7 separate regions of the Homo sapiens genome follow, and regions 1, 3, 4, 5, 6 and 7 are each linked to region 2. The links are contacts of gene promoters, found by promoter capture Hi-C in blood cells and fetal thymus (Javierre and others, 2016). All regions are on one chromosome and are shown on one strand. The core of a region is centred on a gene start or on the middle of the fragment in contact, and the rest is flanking DNA. Distances in the headings are between cores, read along the strand shown.

Evidence for each region. The method cuts DNA at HindIII sites, captures the fragments that hold promoters and counts their contacts. A CHiCAGO score of 5 or more calls a contact.
Region 1: a fragment that was not itself captured here is called in contact with the fragment with the promoter of TRMT6 in region 2 in 2 of 17 cell types (megakaryocytes and fetal thymus); the score reaches 7.7 in megakaryocytes.
Region 3: a contact is called between a fragment that was not itself captured here and the fragment with the promoter of TRMT6 in region 2, in 1 of 17 cell types (naive CD4 T cells). The highest score is 5.4, in naive CD4 T cells.
Region 4: a contact is called between a fragment that was not itself captured here and the fragment with the promoter of TRMT6 in region 2, in 6 of 17 cell types (total B cells, naive CD4 T cells, total CD4 T cells and 3 more). The highest score is 7.3, in total B cells.
Region 5: a contact is called between a fragment that was not itself captured here and the fragment with the promoter of TRMT6 in region 2, in 2 of 17 cell types (naive CD4 T cells and non-activated CD4 T cells). The highest score is 5.4, in naive CD4 T cells.
Region 6: a fragment that was not itself captured here is called in contact with the fragment with the promoter of TRMT6 in region 2 in 13 of 17 cell types (naive CD4 T cells, total CD4 T cells, naive CD8 T cells and 10 more); the score reaches 10.0 in naive CD4 T cells.
Region 7: a contact is called between a fragment that was not itself captured here and the fragment with the promoter of TRMT6 in region 2, in 16 of 17 cell types (naive CD4 T cells, total B cells, naive CD8 T cells and 13 more). The highest score is 15.9, in naive CD4 T cells.

The regions. Positions count from the first base shown.
Region 1 is chr20:6,080,854-6,084,311 of GRCh38, reverse strand. It overlaps FERMT1 (FERM domain containing kindlin 1), which reads left to right. Exons shown (of 15, transcript NM_017671.5): 13 at 148-272. Among named protein-coding and RNA genes, the nearest start is that of LRRN4, 29 kb to the right of the region's middle. The HindIII fragment of the contact is 8,164 bases long and covers 1-3,458 here.
Region 2 is chr20:5,948,328-5,951,809 of GRCh38, reverse strand. TRMT6 (tRNA methyltransferase 6 non-catalytic subunit) reads left to right here and starts at 1,277. Exons shown (of 11, transcript NM_015939.5): 1 at 1,277-1,532. The coding sequence starts at 1,405. It overlaps MCM8 (minichromosome maintenance 8 homologous recombination repair factor), which reads right to left and starts at 1,158. Exons shown (of 19, transcript NM_032485.6): 1 at 787-1,158. RefSeq lists an enhancer at 1,142-1,281. The HindIII fragment of the contact is 3,685 bases long and covers 1-2,984 here.
Region 3 is chr20:5,703,019-5,706,762 of GRCh38, reverse strand. LOC105372514 (a long non-coding RNA gene) reads left to right here. Exons shown (of 3, transcript XR_937224.1): 3 at 2,663-3,131. Among named protein-coding and RNA genes, the nearest start is that of SHLD1, 46 kb to the left of the region's middle. The HindIII fragment of the contact is 548 bases long and covers 2,092-2,639 here.
Region 4 is chr20:5,773,230-5,776,749 of GRCh38, reverse strand. All of the region lies in intron 2 of SHLD1 (shieldin complex subunit 1), which reads right to left. Among named protein-coding and RNA genes, the nearest start is that of SHLD1, 25 kb to the right of the region's middle. The HindIII fragment of the contact is 4,576 bases long and covers 1-3,520 here.
Region 5 is chr20:5,725,502-5,728,985 of GRCh38, reverse strand. No RefSeq gene overlaps it. Among named protein-coding and RNA genes, the nearest start is that of SHLD1, 23 kb to the left of the region's middle. The HindIII fragment of the contact is 792 bases long and covers 1,246-2,037 here.
Region 6 is chr20:5,816,108-5,819,567 of GRCh38, reverse strand. The region is part of intron 2 of SHLD1 (shieldin complex subunit 1); the gene reads right to left. Among named protein-coding and RNA genes, the nearest start is that of SHLD1, 67 kb to the right of the region's middle. The HindIII fragment of the contact is 6,437 bases long and covers 1-3,460 here.
Region 7 is chr20:5,791,076-5,794,451 of GRCh38, reverse strand. The region is part of intron 2 of SHLD1 (shieldin complex subunit 1); the gene reads right to left. Among named protein-coding and RNA genes, the nearest start is that of SHLD1, 42 kb to the right of the region's middle. The HindIII fragment of the contact is 1,211 bases long and covers 962-2,172 here.

The DNA of each region.
Region 1 (3,458 bases), core at 61-2,560, 130 kb before region 2:
AGAGAATGAATGGATGAGAATGGATTGTCTTTGTAGAGCTGCAGACGGACCTTGAGTGTATTGTTCTTATGGGGGATCTGGAGCTAACAGGGTGATCACAGAGCAGCCGGTGCATGTGAAGAGAGGTTGATGTCTGTTTCTGTTCAGCTGGCCGCCCGGATCCTGGAGGCGCACCAGAACGTGGCCCAGATGCCCCTGGTCGAAGCCAAGCTGCGGTTCATCCAGGCGTGGCAGTCACTGCCTGAGTTTGGCCTCACCTACTACCTTGTCAGGTGATTACAATGTTCACTTGTTTCTCACACTTTCCATTCAATTTTAAGTGGCTTTTGGGGAGCCCCAGTTTTCTCATTTAGCATAGAATATAGAATGCTTTTTATTTGAGAATATTGCCCTTTTATAAATAGTCCTGACACTTTGGGCTGCTCATAAACATTTTCCATACCTTCTGTTCTAAGTTCCAATACCCCTGAAACTCAGCTAAATGTGGGAAAGGAAATTTTAAAAGGAGGGTTTTTTTTAGGATAACTACATTTCCAAAACCAGAGGGTAAACATCACATATTGATTTTATGAAATCTGTAACTTCTTTTCGGTTTTTTTTTTTTTGTTTTTTTTTTTTAAGAGATCGGGTGTGGGGAGGGTGGCCGGGGGGGGGGGTGTCTCATTTTGCCGCCCAGGCTGGTCTCGAACTCCTGATCTCAAGCAATCCTCCCACCTCAGCCTCCCAAAGTGCTGGGTTTACAGGCATGAGCCACCACACCTGGCTACGACTTTCTTTCATGTCAGCTTCCTCCTTTTTGTGTCTCATAGTGTCTCGTGGTGTGGCTTTGCAGAATTGTTAGGTTTTTAGAGAGGTCCCCGCAAGCTCTGTCTTATTTCTACCCAGGTTTATCAGGTAGCAACCCTGTTCTCACTGGTCTCTGAAGATTTCTGGGTCTGAAGGATGCATAGGAGGCCCATCTATTGCCCCCAGAAAGACAGCTTAAGTGACTTGTCCAAGTTCACCCCCAGTCCAGGGCACACTTGGCATAAAGCCCTGCATCCTCATTTGTTATCCCCGCCTAGCACTATGGCTCTGCCCCACTGTATACAATGGATGGTTTCCCAAAACATATCCACAAGCATGCTTGTAAATCAAATTACATTCTTCAGTTCAGAAAAGGAGACTGATGCTTAAGCAAAATCTACCCCCAATCCTACAGTACAGCAAGTACTGTCACTTTCTCATCTTATAATTTCGGGGTGGGATAATTGGTTTGTATTTTTAATCATTGGCAGTTTTTGTTTTCTTGGCCCTTTCCAAAGACTCCATTCCTCCATTACTTCTAACAGGGGAGTCTATTCAGACTTTCCAGCTGGGCGCGGTGGCTCACGCCTGTAATCCTAGCACTTTGGGAGGCCAAAGTGGACGGATTGCCTGAGCTCAAGAGTTCAAGACCACTCTGGGCAACGTAGCAAAACCCCATCTCTACTAAAAATACAAAAAAAAATTAGCTGGGCGTGGTGGTGTGCAGCTGTAGTCCCAGCTACTCAGGAGGCTGAGGCACTAGAATTACTTGAACCTGGGAGGTGGAGGTTGCAGTGAGCTGAGATCGCGCCACTGCCCTCCAGCCTAGGCGACACAGTGAGACTGTCTCTAAAACAAAAACAAAACAACAGAAAAAACAGACTTTCCTATTCACTGAAATATCTCATTGAATATCAGTCCCCAACGTTTGTCCCAAACAAGCAACTCCTTCTGCTTTACTTACCCCAACAAAGGAGTGAGGAAGCGCGGAGTCGTACTGGATACCCACTATGTGCGCGCATATGTGTCCATGTGCGGACACACACACACTCACCTGTAACCCTGAAGTCAACCCCGCATAGTGAAAACCACATAAATACTTGAACTGACCAGGCCCAGCTTTCAGTCTCACCTCTGCCTCTGCTAGCTCTGTGACCCGGGCATTTTTGCTGCGCTCCCCAAGCGCAGCTTCTCCATGTGTCCAGTGGGCTCTCCGAACCTACTGTGTTGAGAGAATCCAGTGCAGCCTGCAAGCAAAGTGCCTGATACGTGGTGAAGCGTGGTGTGGGCCTGAACAACTTTCCGGTGACAACTCCTCCTTTACCAGCTACTTCCCCCTGCACCTCCCTCTATCTCTAACACCTGTTTATGGAGGTGAGGCTTTGAGGCAGTGGGCCCAGGTGTAGCGAAGATCTGCTTTTTCCAAGGTCAGTCAGAGTCAAAGCCTGGAGCAGCCATGCTGTGTGTAGGATGTCTGGCGGAATCGGGATCTGCCCACACCCGAGAGACCTAGGTCCTTGCTTCACCGCTCCCTGGATGATGGAGAGCAGCCCAGGGAACTCCCATAGGTTAGAGAGAAGCGGGTGGAGTAAGAAGTGGGTTAATTTGTGATATTAAGCATTAAGGTGGTGAAATGAAGGAATAATGTGGAAAACATTCCAGAACAGGGGAGTAAATTTTAACCAAGGGTGACATGCAGAAGATAAGAATGATGTGAAAAGTGACATATTCAGCTAGGAATTCTTTTAAAATTATGCTTTTCTGTCTCCTGCAGCATCATTTTTCACATCAGTTTCCCCTTCTTGCAACCCCCTCCAGCTGCTCTCCCCAAGCTCTGCCCTAATTTGCAGTAAAACTTCTTGAATGTATTGTACGTACCTACTACCTCCAATTCCTTGCTTCCATTCTCTCTTGAAACCACTCCAGTTAGGTTTTCTCTCCCTCCCTACCCCACTGCCCCTGCTACTTTCTGTCATCAAGGTCACCTCTTGGCCACCCATGACCTTCACATTGCTGAGTCCATTGGTCGCCTCTCAGTCCTTGCACCAGCTACCCTCTCCGCAGCATTTGACACAATGAGTCACCCCTTACCCTTTGCCAACTTGCATCACTTGCCTTCCAACACAGCTGACTTTCCTGGCTTTTCTCCTCCCTCACTGACCAGTTCTTTTGGTCTCCTTGGCTGGTTCTTTCTCATCTTTCCAATCTCTTATAATACCAGAGTGCACAGTCCTCAGTTTTTTGGTTTTTTTTTTTTTTAATTAGAGGCAGGATCTCACTCTGTCACAGTGGCACAATCATGGCTCACTATAACCTCAAACTCCTGGGCTCATGTGATCCTCTCACCCCAGCCTCCCAAGTAGCTGCGACTTGTGAGCCACCACACCTAGCTAACTTTCTTTTAGGAGATGGGATCTCACTGTGTTACCCAGGCTGCTCTCAATCTCTTGGCTTCAAGTAATCCCCTTGCCTCGGCCTCCCAGAGTGCTGGGATTTCAGATGTGAATCACTGCACCCAGCCAGGCCTCAGTTCTTAAAGCATTCCTCTTCTCAATCTCTACTCACCTTCTTGGGTTCAGCCATTCTTTTGACTTCATTTATATGCCAATTACTCTGAAATATATATCTTGAGCCCAGAACTGTCTCTTGAACTGGAGATTCATAAATCCAGT
Region 2 (3,482 bases), core at 28-2,527:
ATAATAGTTTAATAACTATTAAATATGGTTTACGTATACTAGACGCTCACAGGTTAAAAATAAGGACAGGTACTGTACCTGTTTACAAGTCCCCATTACAGAAATGAAAATAGGACAGGTAATTAACTCTATGAAAACTTATTTGCAGTATTTGAGACTTCTTATTATAGGGCAGGACAGGATGAACATAATTCTGGCCTGTGAGACACTAGGGATACATCATCATAGCTTCTTACATACAGTCAATCCTGCAGTGTCACATCCATTTTTTGTGCAGTTTTTCTGTAAATCCAAAACTGTTCTTATAAAATACACGTCTACTTAAAAATGATTCATATCCTAAGTATACAAGTAAATAAAGATATACCTGTACGCTGCAGTGCAATTCATTATCAAATACTCTACCCAAATCCTTACTTAAAAGGGGTTTAGTTAATAAAACAAGATAGTAACTAGAAAGTTCACGATTTAACGGCATGACAGGGCTCCAATAATTAGGCATTACACATTATGAAACTGATGCTCAAAGAAATTAAGCAAACCGATCAAGATCAAAGTTGTTTGTCGACAGTACAGAGATAAAACTTTCAGCCTCCCAAGCTGAGGCGCTCCTTCAACAACGCTGCGTGCCATACCCTTCTCAAACGAGACAATATGCTGAGAACAGTAACAAATTCAAAAAAACGTTAAGAAGTAGGACTGGAGAAAGAGTAAAAAGAAACAGTTGGGTACCTGTGCTTCTTCAAATACTACTTTATTTACATCTCCTAAGGCTAAAGTTCTTACTTGCTTGGGACAGAGGTCCCAAAGCTCTCCTAGTTCACAACTGGGCCGGCTCCAGGATACGCGCAGATCTGTCCGGCCGGATTCTCCCTCCCTCCCTCCCGTAGAGAAGCACCACGGGGCTAAGAGTCTCCGGGATCTTAGCTCCTCAGGCGACTCCTGCCAAGTCCGCAGTTCTCTTCAGCCGCAGCTTTCCTGTCGTCCCCGCGCGGTGCTGAACCCCATCTGTCTCAACGGCTCGGGAAACTCAGTTTCCCCACCGCAGCTTCCAGAAGGTGTCTGTAGCGCACAGCGCCGCAAAAATGCCTCAAGCGAAAATCAGGTCTTCCCCTAAATTCTTTTTTGGCGCTTCAGTGATCCAACTTCCGCTCAAAGAAGCGGCAAGACGAGAGGGGCGGGGCGGAGTGCAGCCAATCAAGGAGTTTGGCCAGACGGAAGCCGAGAGGCTTCCGGAAGCGGTCTTGAGGTCTGGGCCGGAAAGCGGAAGCGGCGTGCAACACGTGGGGGCGGTGCCGGTCGGAGGGCTCCTAGTGCGCCAGGTTGTGGGAAGTGAGGCTGGCGGTGGCGACAACCGAGGAGGAGGGGCGGGACGCCGTGGAGCACGGCGACCGGCTGAGCGTCATGGAGGGCTCAGGGGAGCAGCCGGGCCCACAACCACAGCATCCCGGAGACCACCGCATCCGCGACGGCGACTTCGTGGTGCTGAAACGTGAAGATGTGTTTAAAGCAGTACAAGTCCAGCGGAGAAAGTAAGTCAGATCGCTGATTTTAGGGGTCTCCCGCCCCCACCTTGTAGATACCCCCTCCCTCCAGGTTTCTCCACAGAATTCTTCCGCCAGGGTGCCATTCTTGGCTCTCTCGGTCCCCATTCCCCGCCCTCGTTGTCTCCTCGGGTCTTTCTGTCACAGAAGGCTTTTCCACCAGGATCCCGTCTTCGAACCTCATAATCTCCCTTAACCCTCCTGTTTTTCCCGGAGCCCCCTCCATGATTTCATATCTGGCCGTCCACCTTCAGCATCCTTTTCAGTCTTTCCACAGAGTTCCTTCCCCAGAATTCCATTCTTGGCCCTAGGGTGCCAATGCCTCCCTCTCCACACCCTAATCACCTGTCCTGAAGTTCTTTCCCTAGGACCTTGGGATCTTCACTGTCTTTCCAGAGACACCCCCTCCTTTCTTCACTTTAGGATCTCATCCTTGTCTCCAGAGTCTCCTTCAGGTTCCCCCTTTTTTTCCACCATAGATCCTCCTTCTTCCCTAATCCCCCAGTCAGGATCTATCCCACAAAAAATGAAACGTCTCCTACCTAGTCTGGCTTTCTATCCTCTTCTCTACCCAAGCAGGATACACAGAATAGATGAAGGAGACAATTCACCACAGAGTGTGGAATCACTTTGAGTTTCCCTCGTTTTACTCACCAAAGGATTCAACGCTGGGAAAATTGCTAAAAAGCAATTTGCTCAAGGCCTCAGAACTCCAAATTAGGTTTGGTTTGTGCACCTGCTGGCTAGTATCGCTCTGTTTTATAGAAGTAAAGAAGTGGGATTTTGATAACTTTCTGGAAGGGCTGGTGAGGTTGTTAAGTCCTAAGAGCTTATTAATGGTGAAAATTTATTGGGATATTTGGATTAATTTATCTGAGAAATACAACCACAGTGTTTTTGTTTTTGAGACGGAGTCTTGCTTTGTCACCCAGGCTTTAGGGCAGTAGTGCAATCTCGGCTCATTGCAGCCTCTGCCTCCGAGGTTCAAGCGATTCTCCTGCCTCAGCCTCCCTAGTGGCTGGGACTCTGGCACCATCACACTCGGCTAATCTTTTTTTTTTTTTTTTGTATTTTTAGTAGAGACGGGGTTTCACCATGTTGGCCAGGCTGATCTCGAACTCCTGACCTCAGGTGATCCACCCGCCTCGGCCTCCCAAAGTGCTGGGATTACAGGTGTGAGCCACCGCACCTGGCCACAGTTTCTTTTGAGCTAGGTTATTGTATTACTTTTGACAGAGATAAGTTGAATGCAATGTCAGGAGAACAGCTTTCTGCAGACTGGGAAGTATGAGATTTGGAATTTCTGATAAGTACTTACTTCAGATGAATTCTTTTACTCCTGGTTTAAGCAAACTGTTGACTGGTATTTAAGGTGAAGCAAGCATCATAAAATAGTCAAGAAACAAGTCTCCAGAGCACTAAGCTGGTGATAACCAAGCTTTTTGCACAAGCACTAATTTAGTAAAGATAAAAAGTTTCTTTTATGAGGGGTATGTTTCTTTTAGTCCGGAAATGTAATACCTGCACCAACCTTTAACCATTTTTAAATTCTTCTTTTTTTTCTTTTTTAAACTAATTAATTTTTTTTGCAGAGACAGAGTTTCACTATGTTGTCTAGGCTAGTCTCCAATTCCTGGGCTCAAGTAATTCCGGCCACCTCAGCCTCCCAAAGTGCTGGGATTACAGGCATGAACAGTAGTTGACCTTCCCCTTTTGTGGTGCCAAAAGGGTTGGAGACCACTGCCCTAAACATTTATTTGGAAATACTTTTCAACAGGCCCTCTTCTTCGCAGAAGTCATAGTGGCAGTTTCCATTTTATTTAGGAAATGACTCTCTCAGCTCAGCTGCATCCCAGGTCAGACTCCCTCATCACCCTTGGGGCTACACTCATCTGATTGGGCAAAAAACAGTCCAGGCTCTCTGAGAAGTAGACTCTG
Region 3 (3,744 bases), core at 1,116-3,615, 250 kb after region 2:
ATCAGGGTCTACACTCTTCCTTCAAATCAGGAACTTGAAAATAGGCACCTTTTAGCTTTATTACACACTGGGTCCACAGTCTCCCTTAGGTACAATGAGCCGCAAAGCCAGCTAAAAGAAGTGACTGGGTTTGACAGCAGGTGAAAAAGAAAAGGGAAATTTTTTTTAAAAAAAGACAAGTGACTGGGAGCGGTTACAGAACATGAGCTCTGCGGCAGACCTGGGTTCAAAACCTTCCTCTATCACTTAGTAGCCATGGGACACTGACAACTTACTTGATTGCTTCGATATGCTAATTTGAATTCCCCTAGAAGCAGACTCTGAGGCAAGGATTCACATGTAAGTAGTTTATTTACCAGATGATCCAGAAAACATTACTAGGGGAGTAGAGAAAATGGGATCAGAAAGGGAAGGCAGACCACAGAGGAGAGGGCATATTACCAAGCAAGTCAACACCGCGGACCACGGGAGCACTCTATAATTTTGTGTTTTTGTTCGTTTGCTTGTTTGTTTAATAGAGATGGGAGCCTCACCATGTTGCCCAGGCTGGTCTCGAACTCCTGGGCTTAAGCGATCCTCCCGCCTCAGCCTTCCAAAGTGCTGGGGTTACAGGCATGAGCCACTGCTCCCAGCCTCCACTGGGGAACTCTAGAAGACTGTGTATAACACACACCTAGGAGTTTTCTCAGCAAAGGGCAGGGGAGTTGGGTCGTTATCAGCCATCGATTAACAGCTGCTTGGGGCAGAGAGGAGGACTAATTCCTTGACACTTCTCATCTGCCTCCCAGGGGCAAGTTAAGCTCTGGCAGCCACAGAAGGCCCTCAGGCAAATAGTTATAACTGTGGGCAGTTGAAAATCTGGCCAGGGAGCCCAGAAATAATAAGGGCAAGGATAACAGTGCGGTCTGCATCTGCTACACCCAGTGCATTTTCTGTCATTTCTAAACCCCCTCATAGGGCTAGCACTAGTCAATGGAAGCTGCTATCATTTCAGCCAAAATAGAGCAGAAATTTTCTTTTCTTTTTTTTTTTTTTTTTTTTTGAGACAGGGTCTGTGTCACCCAGGCTGGAGTGTAGTGGCACAATCTCAGTTCACTGCAGCCTCGACCTTCTGGGCTCAAGCAATTCTCCCACTCCAGCCTCCAGAGTAGCTGGGACACAGGTGCACTCCACTATGTCCAGCTAATTTTTATATTTTTCTGTGAGATGAGATCACACCATGTTGCCCAGGCTAGTCTTGAACCCCTGGACTCAAGCAATCTGCCCGCCTCAGCCTCCCAAAGTGTTGGGATTACAGGCGTGAGCCACTGTGCCCAGCCTAGAGCAGTGAAATTGAAAGAAGATGTGGTAAACTGAGTAATGTCCTGTTTCCCAAACAAGACCACACCCTAATCCTCAGAATCTGTGGGCATTACCTTACCAGGACAAAAGTGACTGCCGATGTGATCAAATTAAAGATTTGAGATGGGAAGATTATTCTGAATTATCCAGGTGGGTACAATGTCATCACATGGGTCCTTATAGGAGCCAAGCAGGAGGATCAGAGTCAGAAAAGGAGACGTGATGATGGAAACAGAGGTCAGAGTGATGTGGGGCTATGAACCAAGGAACACAGGTGGCCTCTAGAAGCTGCAAAAGGCAAGGAAACAGATTTTCCACTAGAGCCTCCAGTAGGAATGCAGCCCTGCTGACCCATTTGAAATATCTGACTCCAGAGCTATAAGATAAATTTGTAGTTTTTTGTTGTTTGTGTGTGTGTGTGTGTGTGTGTGTGTGTGTGTGTGAGATGGAGTCTCACTCTGTTGCCCAGGCTGGAGTACAGTGGCACGATCTCGGCTCACTGCAACCTCCGCCTCCTGGTTCAAGCAATCCTCCTGCCTCAGCCTCCCAAGAAGGTGGAACTACAGGCAGGCATCACTATGCCCAGCTAATTTTTGTATTTTTAGTAGAGACAAGGTTTCACCATGTTGGCCAGGATGGTCTTGATCTCCTGACCTTGTGATCTGCCTGCCTCAGCCTCCCAAAGTGCTGGGATTACAGGCATGAGCCACTGCACCTGGCCAAATTTGTGTTGTTTTAAGTCACTAAGCTTGTGGTAATTTGTCACAGCAGCAATAGGAAACTAATACAGAAAACTGGTCAGGAATAAGAATTGCTACCGCATAGTAATATTTCCTGTGAGCCAGCACTAAGCACTTTAAGAATTTTAGGTCAGGCACAGTCTCACATCTGTAATCCCAGCACTTTGGGAGGTTGAGGTGGGAAGAGCACTTGAGCCGAGGGGTTTGGGACCAGCCTGGGGAACATAGTGAGACCCCATTGCATTAAAAAAATACAAAAATTAGCAGGGCATGGTGGTGTGCACCTGTAATCCCAGCTACTTGGGAGGCTGAGGTGGGAGGATCCCTCGATAACAGGAGTTTGAATCTGAAATGAGTCATGATTGCACCACTATACTCCAGCCTGAGCAACAAAGCAGGACCCTCTCTTAAAAAAAAAAATTAAAAGACAAAAGCATCTTAATTGTTTTAATCCTTACACTGACTATAGGTATATTTGCTACGTGGCCTTGAACTCATCTTGCCATTTTGAATGTCCATTTATACTTCCTCTGTGCTATAGCTAAATGATAAAAAGCTTTTAATTAATTTTATTATTGCAGTTTCACTAAGCAAACAAGCAGTTCTCCTGTGGAAGAACATCTGATACCAAAAGCTTCCCTTCCTGCCAATAAAAGAGTGAAGGCTGACACAGCTGCACTTGAAGCAGGTTGAATAAAAACCGGACTCAGCCCCTTTAAGTCCGGCTGATGACAAACGGGTGCTTTTTATCTTTTGCTGTTGCTCTGGCTCAGTACAGCCATTTAATTATTCATAGGAAGGCTCTTTGGTATTTTCACTGTAGAAGTCACATCTGAGACTTAAATCTTACTTCCACCAACTCCAGTGATGAAGTTTCCAGACTAATGAAAACGTCAGTGCTGTGACATTCCCGGAACCCATTCTTTTAGCTCTGCAAGGAAAGCTAGACTTGGGCTTTCCATTGTTGGAGCATAAAGTTCCTCACTCACCAAAGCTGCCAGCAGGAAAATCCACCAGACACTTTAAGCTAGTGATTACACTGATGTAAATATAAACTTACCACGAATATAACAATGAAAGTTTTTTTATCCTTGGAAAAATCTTGGAGTGTGGAGAAAGCATCTCAATTACCTTGCAGGTCAGTGTGCAATTATATTAGGCTTTCTCCCTCTTTCTCTCCCTCTTTGTTTCCCATTTCTTTCTAAATAGCACTAGATACAAGGGGGAAAGGCAACTGGGCTATTACTTCATTTAAGAAAGAAAGGATGGTTACTTTTTTTTTTAATTGTTGTTAGGATTCTGTTTTTTTTTTTTTTTTTTTTTTTTGGTAGAGACAGGAGTCTCGTTGTGTTACCCCGGCTGATCTCAAACTCCTGACCTCAAGTGATCCTCCCACCTGGGCCTCCCAAAGTACTGGGATTACAGGTGTGTGCCACTGCACCCAGCCTTTTTTAAAAAAATAATTTTAATCACGGCTATAATCCTAGCACTTTGGGACGATGAGGCAGGTGGATCACCTGAGGTCGGGAGTTCGAGACCAGCCTGACCAACATGGAGAAACCCCATCTCTACTAAAAATACAAAATTAGCCAGGCATGATGGCACATGCCTGTAATCCCAGCTACTCAGGAGGCTGAGGCAGGAGAATCACTTAAACCTGGGA
Region 4 (3,520 bases), core at 26-2,525, 180 kb after region 2:
GCTCTGTTGCCGGGGCTGGAGTGCAATGGTGCGGTCTTGGCTCACTACAACCTCCACCTCCTGGGTTCAAGTGATTCTCCTGCCTCAGGCCCCCGAGTATCTGGGATTACAGGCGCCTGCCACCACGCCCGGCTAATTTTTGTATTTTTATTAGAGACAGGGTTTTACCATGTTGGCCAGGCTGGTCTAGAACCCCTGACCTCAGGCGATGCACCCGCCTCGGCCTCCCAAAGTGCTGGGATTACAGGCATGAGCCACTGTGCCCAGCTAGAGGTAATTAAGTTTTGAGGGTGGAAGCCTCATGATGGCATTAGTGCCCTTATAAGAGACATGAGAAAGAGGCTCTCTCTCTAGGCCATATGAGGACACAGGAAGACGGTGGCTGTCTACAAATCAAGAACAGGGACAGCACCAGACACCAAATCTGCTGGCACCTTGACCTTAGACTTTCCAGCCTCTGGAGCTGTGAGAAGCCACCCAGTGTATGGTATTTGTGATAAAAGCCTGAGCTGGCTGGGCGCAGTGGCTCACGCCTGTAATCCCAGAGCAGTGGCTCATGCCTGGGATGACCACAGCGGGTGGATCACTTGAGGTCAGGAGTTCAAGACCAGCCTGGCCAACATGGTGAACCCCGTCTCTACTAAAAACACAAAAATTAGCCAGGTGTGGTTGCGCTCACCTGTAATTCCAGCTACTTGGGAGGCTGAGACAGGAGAATTGCTTGAACCTGGGAGGTGGAGGTTGCAGTGAGCCAAGATCACGCCACTGTGCTCTAGCCTGGGTGACAGAGCGAGACTCCATCTCAAAAAAAAAAAAAAAAAAAAAATCCTGAGCTGACCAGGCAGTACTGCAGTGTGCTAAGCACCCCAGCTGATGAGGAATTGGATCTCCTGAGAGTCCACTCCCTGCCACACACTATGCCTCATGCACTACCTTGTACAACCTTATAACCTCCCCAACAAGGAGGTGCTGTTATCATCTCCATTTTACAAATAAGGAGACAGGTACAGAGGGGCTAAGTGGCTCGCCCAAAGTCAAACCAGGGGAAGAAGCAGAACCAGAATTCCAACCAGGCTGTCTAATCCAGCACGACCACCACTACTACCGTGTAAAATGGTTGTCTTAGCGTTTGAGTACCCCTTCCCATGTTTAGACATGGGTTCCCCAAACAACCTTTTTGGCATAGAATATCCATATTTTTAACAAATACCCCTACATAAATATTTCAACATGCTCCTTATTTTTAGAGCTGTCAACCAATTCCAATTAATAACAGTTGCTTTTCTACAGATTAGTCAACTAACAGGCAATAAAAAGTAAAAACTGAGTCCACACTGAATTCCCTAAGGGAATAGAGCCATTGCCTTGAAGTATTTCAACATGCTAATACTTCTAAAGTTCTGTTCAAACTGGATATGGTTGCTCACTCCCATTATCCCAGCACTTTGGGAGGCCATGGTGGGAGGATCACTTGAGGCCAAGAGTTCGAGACTTGCCTGGGCAACACAGCAAGACCCTGTCTCTACAAAAAAATTAAAAAAAAAAAAGCCATGTATGGTGATGTGAGCCTGTAATCCCAGCTACTTGGGAGGCTGAGGCAGGAGGATAGCTTCAGCTCAGGAGTTCAAGGCTGCAGTGAGCTATGATGGCACCACAGTATTCCAGCCTAGGCACAGAGCAAAACCCTGTCTCTAAATAAATAAATACATACACAAACAAAGTTCTGTTCAACTGCCTCCATTCACTCATTCTAAGAAATGCTGTTGCTACCCAGGGATGATGAACAAAATCAGTTTTAGGGATGGAAAGTCATGTAGAGGCAGCAGGATGGCAGGGAAAAAAGGGAAGGTTAAAGGAACTAAGATGTTAAGTCTAGAAAGGAAAAGGATAAAGAATTATCTAATTCTTGGTCAGTGATATGGTTTGGATTTGTGTCCCTGCCGAAATGTCATGTGGAATTGTCATCCCCAGTGTTGGAAGTGGGGCCTGGTGGGAGGTGATTGGTTCATGGGGCAGTTCCTCCTAATTGGTTTACAGCACCATCCCCTTGGTGCTGAGTTCCCATGAGATCTGGTTGTTTAAAAGTGTGTAGCACCTTCCCCCTCTCTTTCTTCCTCCTGCTTCAGCCATGTGAAGTGCCAGCTTCCCCTTTGCCTTCCGCCCTGATTGATGCCTAGCAGGTGCTTCTATGCTTCCCGTACAGCCTGCAGAACTGTGAGCCAATTAAACCTCTTTTCTCTATAAATTACCCAGTCTCAGGTATCTCTTTATAGCAGTGTGAGAATGAACTAACACAGTCAGGTACTAAATTAAACAGGAGACTTACTGATCCTGATTACTCTGTGTCCTGAAAATCAGCAGAGAATCCCAAACATATTTCTCCATAGAATTCTTGAAGGCAATGACAGTTACACATCCTACCTGTAGTCATCACTGAATTCATCATCATTAAAGCCTACATTTGCTTAGTACCCACAATGAGTTCTTTCTAAAAATATATATTTGGATTTGTTTTTTGTTGTTGTTTGTTTTTTGTTTTTTGTTTTGAGACAGAGTTTTGCTCTTTCGCTCAGACTGGAGTGAAGTGGCACGATCTCAGCTCACTGCAACCTCCACCTTCCGGGTTCAAGCGATTCTCCTGCTTCAGCCTCCCGAGTAGCTGGTATTACAGGCGCCCGCCACCACACCTGGCTAATTTTTGTATTTTTAGTAGAGACAGGGTTTCACCATGTTGGCCAGGCTGGTCTTGAACTCCTGACCTTAGGTGATCCACCCGCCTCGGCCTCCCAAAGTGTTAGGATTACAGGTGTGAGCTACCACACCCGGCCATTTGGATTTCTTAATATTAACGACAACAACATTGACTGAGCACCCATCGATGGCAGAAAAACCATGCTAAGTATCTTACAGGTTTACCTTAAGCTAAACCTGACTGGGTGGAGCAAGCATTCTGATCACCATTTTGTAGACGACTCTGGAGCTCAGAGGGGTTAAGGAACACGCCCCAAGTCACATAGCCAGCAAGTGGCAGAGCTGAACTTTAAATCCAGGTCTGTGTGATAAACCCAGGGGATTAACCAAAACTAACAAGAAATAAATGAATAAATAAATAAATCCAGGTCTGCGGGCCTCCAGACTCAGATCAGGTAATTAATATGAAAGAGAGGGCTTTACCACTAAAGACGGCCACTACCTACATCAGGGAATTATCATTAGTTTAAATAATAGATGTTTCGGCAATCTAGTCAGGAAACCTTGTAGAAAGGTTGTTACTTAAATCCACAGCATACTTCATACAAGGAATGCTAAAGTCTCTATTTTTATTACTCATCACACATAACAGGCCCACATTGCTATTTTCTGAAGTTTTAAAAGAACAAAACAAAAAAAAATTCCACTCTCTCTTTGTTGAACCAAATATTCCCCTGCTTCTGAATTCATTTTGAGGGAGATTAGAAAGAGACCTGAGATTAACAGCAACAATAACAAAAAGACATCCAGGAAACAGCTCCTTGTCATT
Region 5 (3,484 bases), core at 392-2,891, 220 kb after region 2:
ATTGAACTTCAGTCTGGGTGACAAGTGAGACCCTGTCTAAAAAAAAAAAAAAAAAGCTGGGCACGGTGCCTCACACCTATAATCCCAGCACTTTGGGAGGCCGAGGAGGGCTATAATCCCAGCACTTTGGGAGGCCAAGGCGGGTGGGTCACCTGAGGTTGGGAGTTCAAGACCAGCCTGACCAACATGGAGAAACCCCGTCTCTACTATAAATACAAAATTAGCTGGGCGTGGTGGCACACACCTGTAGTCCCAGGCAGGAGAATTGCTTGAACCTGGGAGGCAGAGGTTGCGGTGAGCCAAGATCATGCCATTGCACTCCAACCTGGGCAACAAGAGCGAAACTCCTCAAAAAAAAAAAAAAAAGTAATTAATGAATTAATTAATTAAAAAAAGGAGGCTGTCTGCACTCCTTGGCTTGTGCTCTTTCCTTTAGCATCAAAGACAGTGGTGTATTTTCAAGTCTCTCTCTTTCTTTTCTCTTCTTTCCCTCTGTCTCTGTTCCTCTCTCCCTCTCTCACTCTGCACCTGAACCCCCCAAGTTCTGCTTTATTTATTACATCTTCTTCTGAGACTCTGGCCCTCCTATCTCCCTCTTATAAGGACCTTTGTGATTACGTTGATCCCACTCAGCAAATCTAGGAGAATCTCCCCATCTCTCACTCACTTAACACCTCTGCAAAGTCTCTTTTGCCCTGTAAAGTAACATATTCACAGGTCCCAGGGATTAGGATGTGGATATCTTTGGAAGACCATAATTCTACCTATCACATTGTAATTAGGAGCATTCCTTTGGTACTGTAATTTATGAACACCCAAAACTAATTGAGAAGGAAGGGCTATATCATACTATACATTTTCAGGTGATGGTAGGAACCTCTTATAGCAGAAATTTCTAGGAAATGCAGTGGGGTGGAAAAGCACTCTGTTTTAGCCATTCATCAGAGGTACTCACCCTTTTGGAGTTGAGATCGACCTTGGGTCTGGATAGAGTTGGGTGCTGGAGAAAGCAGGAGAAGAGAGAGGAGGAGAAACTGGGGCAGAGATATCTGCTTGGGCTAGTTACAAAGTGTGGTTGTACTAAGACTTCCAAACAGAAAATTTGGTTCTGGGGGAGAAAAAAGGATGTTAGGCATTAGTACTACATTAAACCCAGTAATTCTCTTATTCGTTTGGGGCTGATTCTGCAGAGAGACTTCCTGCTTCATTGACACTTGGCTTTGCCAAATTCGCTTTTCTTAAGCTTCTTCCCTAGGCTGCTTTGCTTAGATTGAATATATTATTGAGTTTCAAGGAGGATCCATTATTATCAAAGTATGTATGTTTACCAATACTTCTCACTTTCTCTATCTTGGCTCTATGTTAACAAACAAAGGATTATCTTTCCCCTTTACCCGTCTGAAGAGAAAGGAATAGTAATTAATTTTCTTCAAACTATGCAAACAGATTCAAAGGCTAGGGTCATTTTTATCCTCTCTACTACCTGAGAAACATTAAAAAGTCTTTTATGCCCAGTGTGGCGCCTTGTATTTTCCAGAGATGGCCACAATAATATCTGCCTTTCCCCTTTTCTTATAATTCAACTGACACTCCTCTCATTGAGGTGTGACCTATGTTCCCTCCCCTTGAATCTGGGTGGGTTTGTGATTGTGGTGGAAATGATATCACGTGACTTCCAAGGCTAGATGATAAGAGTATAGCTTCCCCCAGGTTCTCATGGGATACTCACTGTTAGAACATGGCCGCCTTGCTGTGAGGAAGCCCAAGCAGCACTCTGGAGGCCATGTGTTGGTGTCCCAGCCAACAGCTCAGCTGAGTTCTCAGCCATGCCCTGCCAAACATGCGAGTGAGCAAACATTCAGATTATTTTAGCCAGAACCTGCAAAGTCACTCCTTGCTGATTGAGTCTTTCCAATGAGGCCCCAGGCATTGTGGAGTCCAGACGAGTTGTCCTGGATTTGCTCTTTCTGAATTCCTGACCTGACCCATAAGATACATAGTCATGATAAAATGGTTGCTGTTTTATACTATTAAGCTTGGAGTCATTTGTGCTGCAGGGATAGTAATGAGAATACTCAGGTACGTACAAATGTTGAAAGATAGTGGGCATTCTTTTTTTTTATTTTTATTTTTGGAGATGGAATCTTGCTCTGTCGCCAGGCTGGAGTGTGGAGTGCAGTGGCATGATCTCGGCTCACTGCAACCTCTGCCTCCCGGGTTCAAGCGATGCTCCTGCCTCAGCCTCCCAAGTAGCTGGGACTACAGGCACACACCACCATGCCTAGCTAATTTTTGTATTTTTAGTAGAGACGGGGTTTCACCATGTTAGCCAGGATGGTCTCGATCTCTTGACCTCGTGATCTGCCCACCTTGGCCTCCCAAAGTGCTGAGATTACAGGCGTGAGCCATTGTACCCGGCTGATAGTGGGTATTCTTATCTGCAAACACAATAACCATAGCAAGATGTCTGCAACTTACCACATTTTTCCCCCACCTTGTTTCTTTTCTTTCCTTTAAAAAAATCAGCTGGGCACGGTGGCTCATGCCTGTAATCCCAGCACTTTGGAAGGCCAAGGTGAGTGGACCTCACCTGAGGTCAGGAGTTCAAGACCAGCCTGGCCAACATGGTGAAACTCTGTCTCTACTAAAAATACAAAAATTAGCCGGGTGTGGTGGCAGGCGCCTGTAATCCCAGCTACTCGGCAGGCTGAGGCAGGAGAATAGCTTGAACCTGGGAGGTGGAGGTTGTAGCAAGCCAAGATCCTGCCATTGCACTCCAGCCTGGGCAACAAGAGCAAAACTCTGTCTAAAAAAAAGGAAAAAATCTTTATGTTTTTTAGAGACAGGATCTCAAATTGCCCAGGCTGGCTAAGAACTCCTAGTCTTAAACGATCCTCCCCATTCAGCCTCCCAAGTAGCTGGGACTATAGGTGCATACCACCATGCCCAGCTTCCAACTTGTTTCTAATCTTTATTTTATTAATTTTTTTTTAATTGAGACAAAGTCTCACTCTGTCACCCAGACAGTGGTATGCAGTGGCATGATCTTGGCTCACTCCAGCCTTGACCTCCTGGGCTCAAGTGATCCTCTCACTTCAGCCTCCGAGTAGCTGGGACTACAGGTACACACGATCATGCCCAGCTAATTTTTGTGTTTTTTGTAGAGACAGGCTTTCACCATGTTGCCTAGGCTGGTCTTGAACTCCTGGACTTAAGCAGTCTCCTGCCTTGGCCTCCCAAAGTGCTGGGATTACAGGCATGAGCCATCCCACCCAGCCCAAGCTTGTTTGTTAAAATTAAAAAAAAAAAAAAGTCTCAACCCCATTAATCTAATTCAGAAATTCAAAGCTGGCCTTTCCTTCTTTCTTTCTTCCTCCAAGACAATTCATCTCATCTTTTTTTTTTTTTTTTTTTTTTTTTTGAGAAAGAATCTCGCTTTTTCACCCAGGCTAGAGTAAAGTGGTACGATCTCGGCTCACTGCAA
Region 6 (3,460 bases), core at 741-3,240, 130 kb after region 2:
TTACAGATGTGAACCACCATGACTGGCCTACATGATGTTTTAATATGACAACAGCCAACATGACAATAGTCGGTGTTGTTCCTACAGTGCATGAAATCAGTAAGCATTCATTGAGTACTTCTTATATGTGATGAAAGTGAAGCAATTACAAAGGCAAACATTACAGTTAATAAGCAAAGTTTGGAATGAGAAATAACAGATAAGGGTAAGAGTGTGGTCACACCAGATCAATCTGGTTCAACTTTTACGTAACAAAGTTGTGAGTTGTTTTTCAGTTGTCACGGACCCTCAGGTCTCATAACCTGAGCATGCCCAGATGAACCAAGCATGCAACCATGCTTAGTTCCACTAGGGGGAACCTAAGTGCTCAGACCGAGGAGTGGGACTGAATTAAGAAGTAGACACTGGCGGGGCACGGTGGCTCACACTTGTAATCCCAGCACTTTGGGAGGCTGAGGCGGGCAGATCACTTGAGGTCAGGGGTTCAAGACCAGCCTGGCCAACATGGAGAAACCTGTTTCTACTAAAAACACAAAAATCAGCTGGGTGTGATGGCGCACACCTGTAGTCCCAGCTACTTGGGAGGCTGAGGCCCAAGAATTGCTTGAACCCAGGAGGCAGAGGTTGCAGTGAGCTGAGATCATGCCACTGCACTCCAGCCTGGACAATGGAGCAAGACTCCATCTCAACAAAACAAAACAAAACAGAAGTGGACACTGCATGGCAGGATCCAGGATCCAATCAGATTGAGCCCTGGAGTCACCCCATGGTGGATTCCAGTTAGATCATGACCCCCAACATCATCGCCTTATTGTAAGATCCAATCAATCACCTCATTCCAAGATCAATCCAGTCACCTCATTCACGCCTCATTACCATATGCTTATAAACCTCAACCCAGGCCCCCATTTGGGGAGACAAATTTGAGCATTTCCTCCTATCTCCTTGCAAGGACCAAGAGTTCCTGGATCATATGACCTACCTACCAACCAACCCAGTATGTGATTCCAACCCTCTTATTTCTTGGCAACTCTGCATTATTTAACCTATAAAATGGGTACAGGATCCCTGCCTTTACTTACTACAGAAAAATGTTACAAGACAAATCTAAGTGAACAGCCTCTGGCAATGGCAGAGTTAACTATACCAAATTTGCCCTTCTGCTATAAATGGCTATAAAACTGGACAAAATGGCCTGGTGCAGTGGCTCACGCCTGTAATCCCAGTATTTTGGGAGGCTGTGGCGGGTGGATCACTTAAGGTCAGGTGTTCTAGAGCAGCCTGGCCAACATGGTGAAACCCCATCTCTACTAAAAATACAAAACTTAGCCAGGCGTGGTGGCAGGTGTCTGTAATCCCAGCTACTTGGGAGGCTGAGGCAGGAGAATCGCTTGAACCTGGGAGGCAGAGGTTGCAGTGAGCCGAGATAGTGCTACTGCACTCCAACAGAGCAAGGCTGTCTCAAAAAAAATAAAAAAATAAAAAAAAGAAAGAAAAAGAAAAAAAGGAGAAAAAGAAAAGAAAACTGGACAAAAAACAACTGCTTTCAGATCCTGGTCACAGTTAGTATAGGACTTTGATCACTGAGAGAAGGGACGCAAGATGTGCCTACAATTGCCCCCAGTGTTCTGCTGGAGGCACTTCCTAGACCACAGCGCAGGGAAGGGGAATCCAAACAGAGCACAGCAATCTCACTGCCTCACAGCAGTTTCCTCAGCAAAGAGACAGAGATCAGTTTCAGGTGCCTGGAATTTCTGAAGCTGAGTCCTGGAGATGAGGGAGCTAAACAGATAAAGAGCTCCAGAAATCAGCATAGGGATTCTTTTGAGTATTTCACAGTGAACACTAAGTCATAATGCCAGGCACAGCCAGGGGAGCTGTGAGCTGAACAACTTCCAGAACTCACACAGGGCTGGGAGACATGCATGTTCTGACAGCCAGAGTGAGATGACTGTTGAATACCTGGGATATTCAGTACAGACCCAGAAAGGCTAAACCTTGGTAGCAAGCTAAACTAGCTACAGAGTACAGGCTATTCAAAAAATCTCCCTAGTGAGTTTAGGCTGGATGCAGTGGCTCACGCCTGTAATCCCAACACACACACACACACACACACACACACACACACACACACAGAGAGAGAGAGAGAGAGAGAGAGAGAGAGAGAGAGAGAAAATATCCCGTGAGCTTAAAAACAAGTCTTGAAAGGATCAAGTTGATAAGCAAGTAATTTAACTGCCTGCCATAACAAACTTTGATACTTTTTATAAAAAGGCAGCAAAATACAGACACTCTACAATGTAATATCACTAAGTCCAGCATCTCATAATTACTAGACATGGGAAGAAGCAGGAAAATATTACCTATAATCAGGAGAAAAATCAGTCAACAGAAACAGATCTTGAAATGATAAAGATGATGGAATTAACAAACAAGGACGTGAAAGCAGCTAATATTATAAATATCCTCAAGGTTTTATTTTCATTTTATTTATTTATTGAGATAGGGTCTCACTTTGTCACCCAGGCTGGAGTGCAGTGGCACAATCTCGGCTCACTGTAGCCTCCATCACCTGAGCTCAAGTGATCCTCTTGCCTCAGCCCCCAAGATAACTGGGGCTACAGGCAGGCACCACCACGCCCAGCTATTTATTGGTATTTTTTGTAGAGACAGGGTTGCCATGTAGCCCAGGCTGGTCTTGAACTCCTGAGCTCAAGTGAACCACCCGCCTCGGCCTCCCAAAGTGCTGAGATTACAGGTGTGAGCTACTGCGCCCAGCCTATCCTCAGGGTCTTAAAGGAAAACATAATGTATGACAAATAGGAATATCTGTGATAGTTTTTAAACTGGTCCTTTTATACTGTCAGGCATTTTAATCATAATATTAGTTCTTGAGTAGAATGCAGAATCACAGAAAAAATATGAACTGGAAACAAATCAGGAGAGCAACTTCCAGTTCTCGTCCTGCCACTATTTCGCTATGGTCCTCAGATTTTCACTTGCATTTTCCAAAGCTCAGTTTCCTCATCTGTGAAATGTAGATATTGCCCTCAACAATCTTCCTTTTTAAGACTCACACTGCCCCTTGTTTACCCACAGACAGTGAATCTCTCATGCACCCAAATTTATTCATTCAGCATTTCAGTAGAAAGCAACCTTTTATTTTTCAAATCATTGTTGGCAAACCCCGAATATACGCAGTAGAACTTTACTATTTCTGAAGGGGAATCTTCAGTGACTCTTGGTTCTCTCTGTCCTGGCAATCTTTACTTAAAATAAAAAAAATGTCATTCAAGGAAAATGTGTCTTTTTGGAACTACATTTACAATAAAATCACAAAATAATTTTTAAAAAATATAGAGTTGAAATTTTAAAATAATATTTACATTTGCAGTTAATTTTATGACCAACAATTCATGGGCTGTGTATTCTACCAGTTTATGCCATTTCTTTTTCTTTC
Region 7 (3,376 bases), core at 318-2,817, 160 kb after region 2:
TGTAAGGGGCCTGTCCCAGGAAAAGTCACTTTTTTGCCTCGTACTGAGCAACATAAAGAAGTGGAAGTCTTAGACTCCTGAAAGGAACTCAAGAAAGAAGTGAATCCAGAAACCAACCCCAGTAGCAGCACTAGTTGTAACAGCAGTGGTGGTAATGACAGCTAGCCTTTGCTAAGTCTACTCAGCTCCAGGTGTCTCACTCAATCCTCATGACAACCTATGAAGCAGATAGTGTTATTGTCCTCATCTTATAGATGAGGAAACTAAGAAAGAGTGAAGTGCAGTCACTTGCTCAAGGTCAGAAAGCTAGCATGTTTAGCTAGCTATAGAATCAAGGTGAAAACTCAGACCAGTCAGGCTCCAAAACAAACAAACAATCAGAAAATGTAGAACGTGATTTTTTTTTTTAAGTGAGGGGAACATCTAAAACCAGAGAGAAAGGGGCCTGGCGTGGTGGCTCAGGCCTGTAATCCCAGCACTTTGGGAGGCTGATGTGGGCAGATCACCTGAAGTCAGGAGTTCAAGACCAGCCTGGCCAACATGGTGAAACCCTGTCTCTACTGAAAATACAAAAAAATTAGCCAGGCACGGTGGCATGTGCTTATAATCCCATCTACTCAGGAGGATGAGGCAGGAGAATCACTTGAACCAGGGACGAAGGTTGAAGTGAGCCGAGATCGTGTCACTGCACTCCAGCCTGGGCAACAAAAGTGAAAGAAAAAAAATACCAGAGAGAAAGGAATACAATGATTAAATAAATAACATTGAGACAACTGGCTTCCATTTGGAAAACAATAGAGCTATCATCTTGTTTCATACTTTACCCTAAAATAAAGACTTCAAAGTTGAAAATTAAACTTTTAAAAATACTAAGAAATGGAGGTGCCTATTTATATAATCTTGGAAAGCAAGAATGGTTTTCCTAATTTTATGCTAAAGCAGAAGCATTGATTGATAAGCTTGACTATATAGGAATCTAAAATCTCTATACATCAAAAAAAACCCACAACGTGAGCCACTGTGCCTGGCCTAATGTGGAATTTTAAAAGGCAAGTTGCAGAACAGCATGTTTTTGTTACAGGTTTTTTGTTGTTAAAATCTCTACATAAACAAATGCACTAAAATACATAAATTTACATGCACATATTTATCCACACTAAAATATATTTATAGGTACATCAAAAAAGAATACATACAGACCTCCAAATAGCAAAAACAATTCCGAGGAAAAAAAAAGTTGGAGGACCCACACTTCCTGATTCAAAACATAGCTACAGTAATCAAAACAGTGTGGCACTGTCATAAAGACAGACATACGGACCAATGGAACAGGACAAAGACCCAGAAATAAACCCTTACGTATATGCTCAAATGATCTTTGACAAGGGTGCCAAGACTACTCAATAGGGAAAAGAAGGTCTCTCCAACAAATGGTGAGGGGAAAACAGCATATCCACATGCAAAAGAACAAAGTCGAGGCCAGGCGTGGTGGCTCATGCCTGTGATCTCAGCAGTTTGGGAGGCCGAGGTGGGCAGATCACTTGACATCGGGAGTTCGAGACCAGCCTGGCCAACATGATGAAACCCCGTCTCTACTAAAAATACAAAAAATCAGCCAGGCATATTGGCGCACGCCTGTAATCCCAGCTACTCGGGAGGCTGAGGCACATGAATCTCTTGAACCCAGGAGCCAGAGGCTACAGTGAGCCGGGATCATGCCACTGGACTCCAGCCTGGGCAACAGACCAAGACTCTTTTTCTTTTTTTTTTTTAAAAAAAAGAAAACGGCAGATCACCTGAGGTCAGGAGTTCGAGACCAGCCTGGCCAACATGGTGAAACTCTGTCTCTACTAAAAATTCAAAAATTAGCCAGGCGTGGTGGCACACACGTGTAATCCCAGCTATTTGGGGGACTGAGGCATGAGAATCGCTTGAACCCAGGAAGCAGAGGTTGCAGTAAGCCGAGATCATGCCACTGTACTTCAGCCTGAGGGATACAGTGAGACTCTGTCTCAAAAAAACAAAAACAAACAAACAAACAAAAAGATAAAAAGAACAAACTCAAAACCTTATCTTACACAATATACAAAAATTAATTCAAAAATGGATTAAAGACCTAAACATAAGCCCTAAAACTATAAAACTCCTAGAAGAAAGCACAGAGGAAAAGCTTCATGACATTAGACTTGGCAATGATTTCTTAGACATGACACCGAAAGTACAGGAAACAAAAGCAAAAATGGACAAACTCAAAAACTTTTGCACATCAAAGGACATAATCAACAGAGTGAAAAGGCCATCTATAAAAAGGAAGAAAATATTTGCAAATCACATATCTGATAAGAAGTTAGTATCTAGAATACATAAAGAACTCCTACAACTCAATAACAAAAAAAATCAACCCAATTTTAAAAATAGGCAAAGGATTTCAATAGATGTTTCTTCAAAGATGGTATGCAAATGGCCAATAAACATGTGGAAAATATGTTCAACGTTACCAATCATCAGAAAAGTGCAAGTCAAAACCAGAGTGAGATATCACCTCACACCCATTAGGATGGTCACTATCAAAAAAGCAGAAAATAACAAGTGTTGTTGGCAAGGATGTGGAGAAACTGAATTGTGTATTGACCTGTAAAAGTGAACTGCATTTTTTTTTGAGAGTCGAGTTTTGAGAGTTCTTTACATATTGTAGAAACTAGTTCTTTGTCAGGTATGGGATTTGCAAATATTTTCTCCCAGTCTGTGGCCTGTCTTTTCATTCTCTTCACATGGGCTTTCACAAAGCAAAGGTTTTTAATTTTTATGAGGTCCAATTTATCAATGTTTGGCTATATTTTTCAGTTCTATCATTTATATCATTTCCTTTTTTTTTTTTTTTTTTTTTTGAGACAGGGTCTTGCTTTGTGGTCCACGCTGGAGTGCAGTGGTGCAATTATGGCTCACTGCAGCCTCGACCTCCAGGACAATAGCGATCCTCCCAGCTCAGTTCCCGAAGTAGCTGGGACTACATGAGTGCCCCATCACACCCAGCTAATTTTTGTATTTTTTGTAGAGACGAGGTTTCGCCATGTTACCCAGACTGGTCTTGAACTCCTGGGCTCAAGCCATCTACTGCCTCAGCCTCCCAGAGTGCTAGGATTACAGGTGGAAGCCACTGTGCCCAACTGACTTGCTTCTTTTTATAACTTTTATTTATTTGCTAAGATTTTCTGTTTTTTCATTATTTCAAGAGAACTTATAATTGATTGTTCAGGCATTTTTATAATGGCTGCTTTAAAATCCTTGTCAAATAAGGTATTTCTCTGTTGCTCAAGATGGCATATAGTGGCACAATCACAGCCCACTGCAGCTTTGAACTCCTGGGATCAGGCGA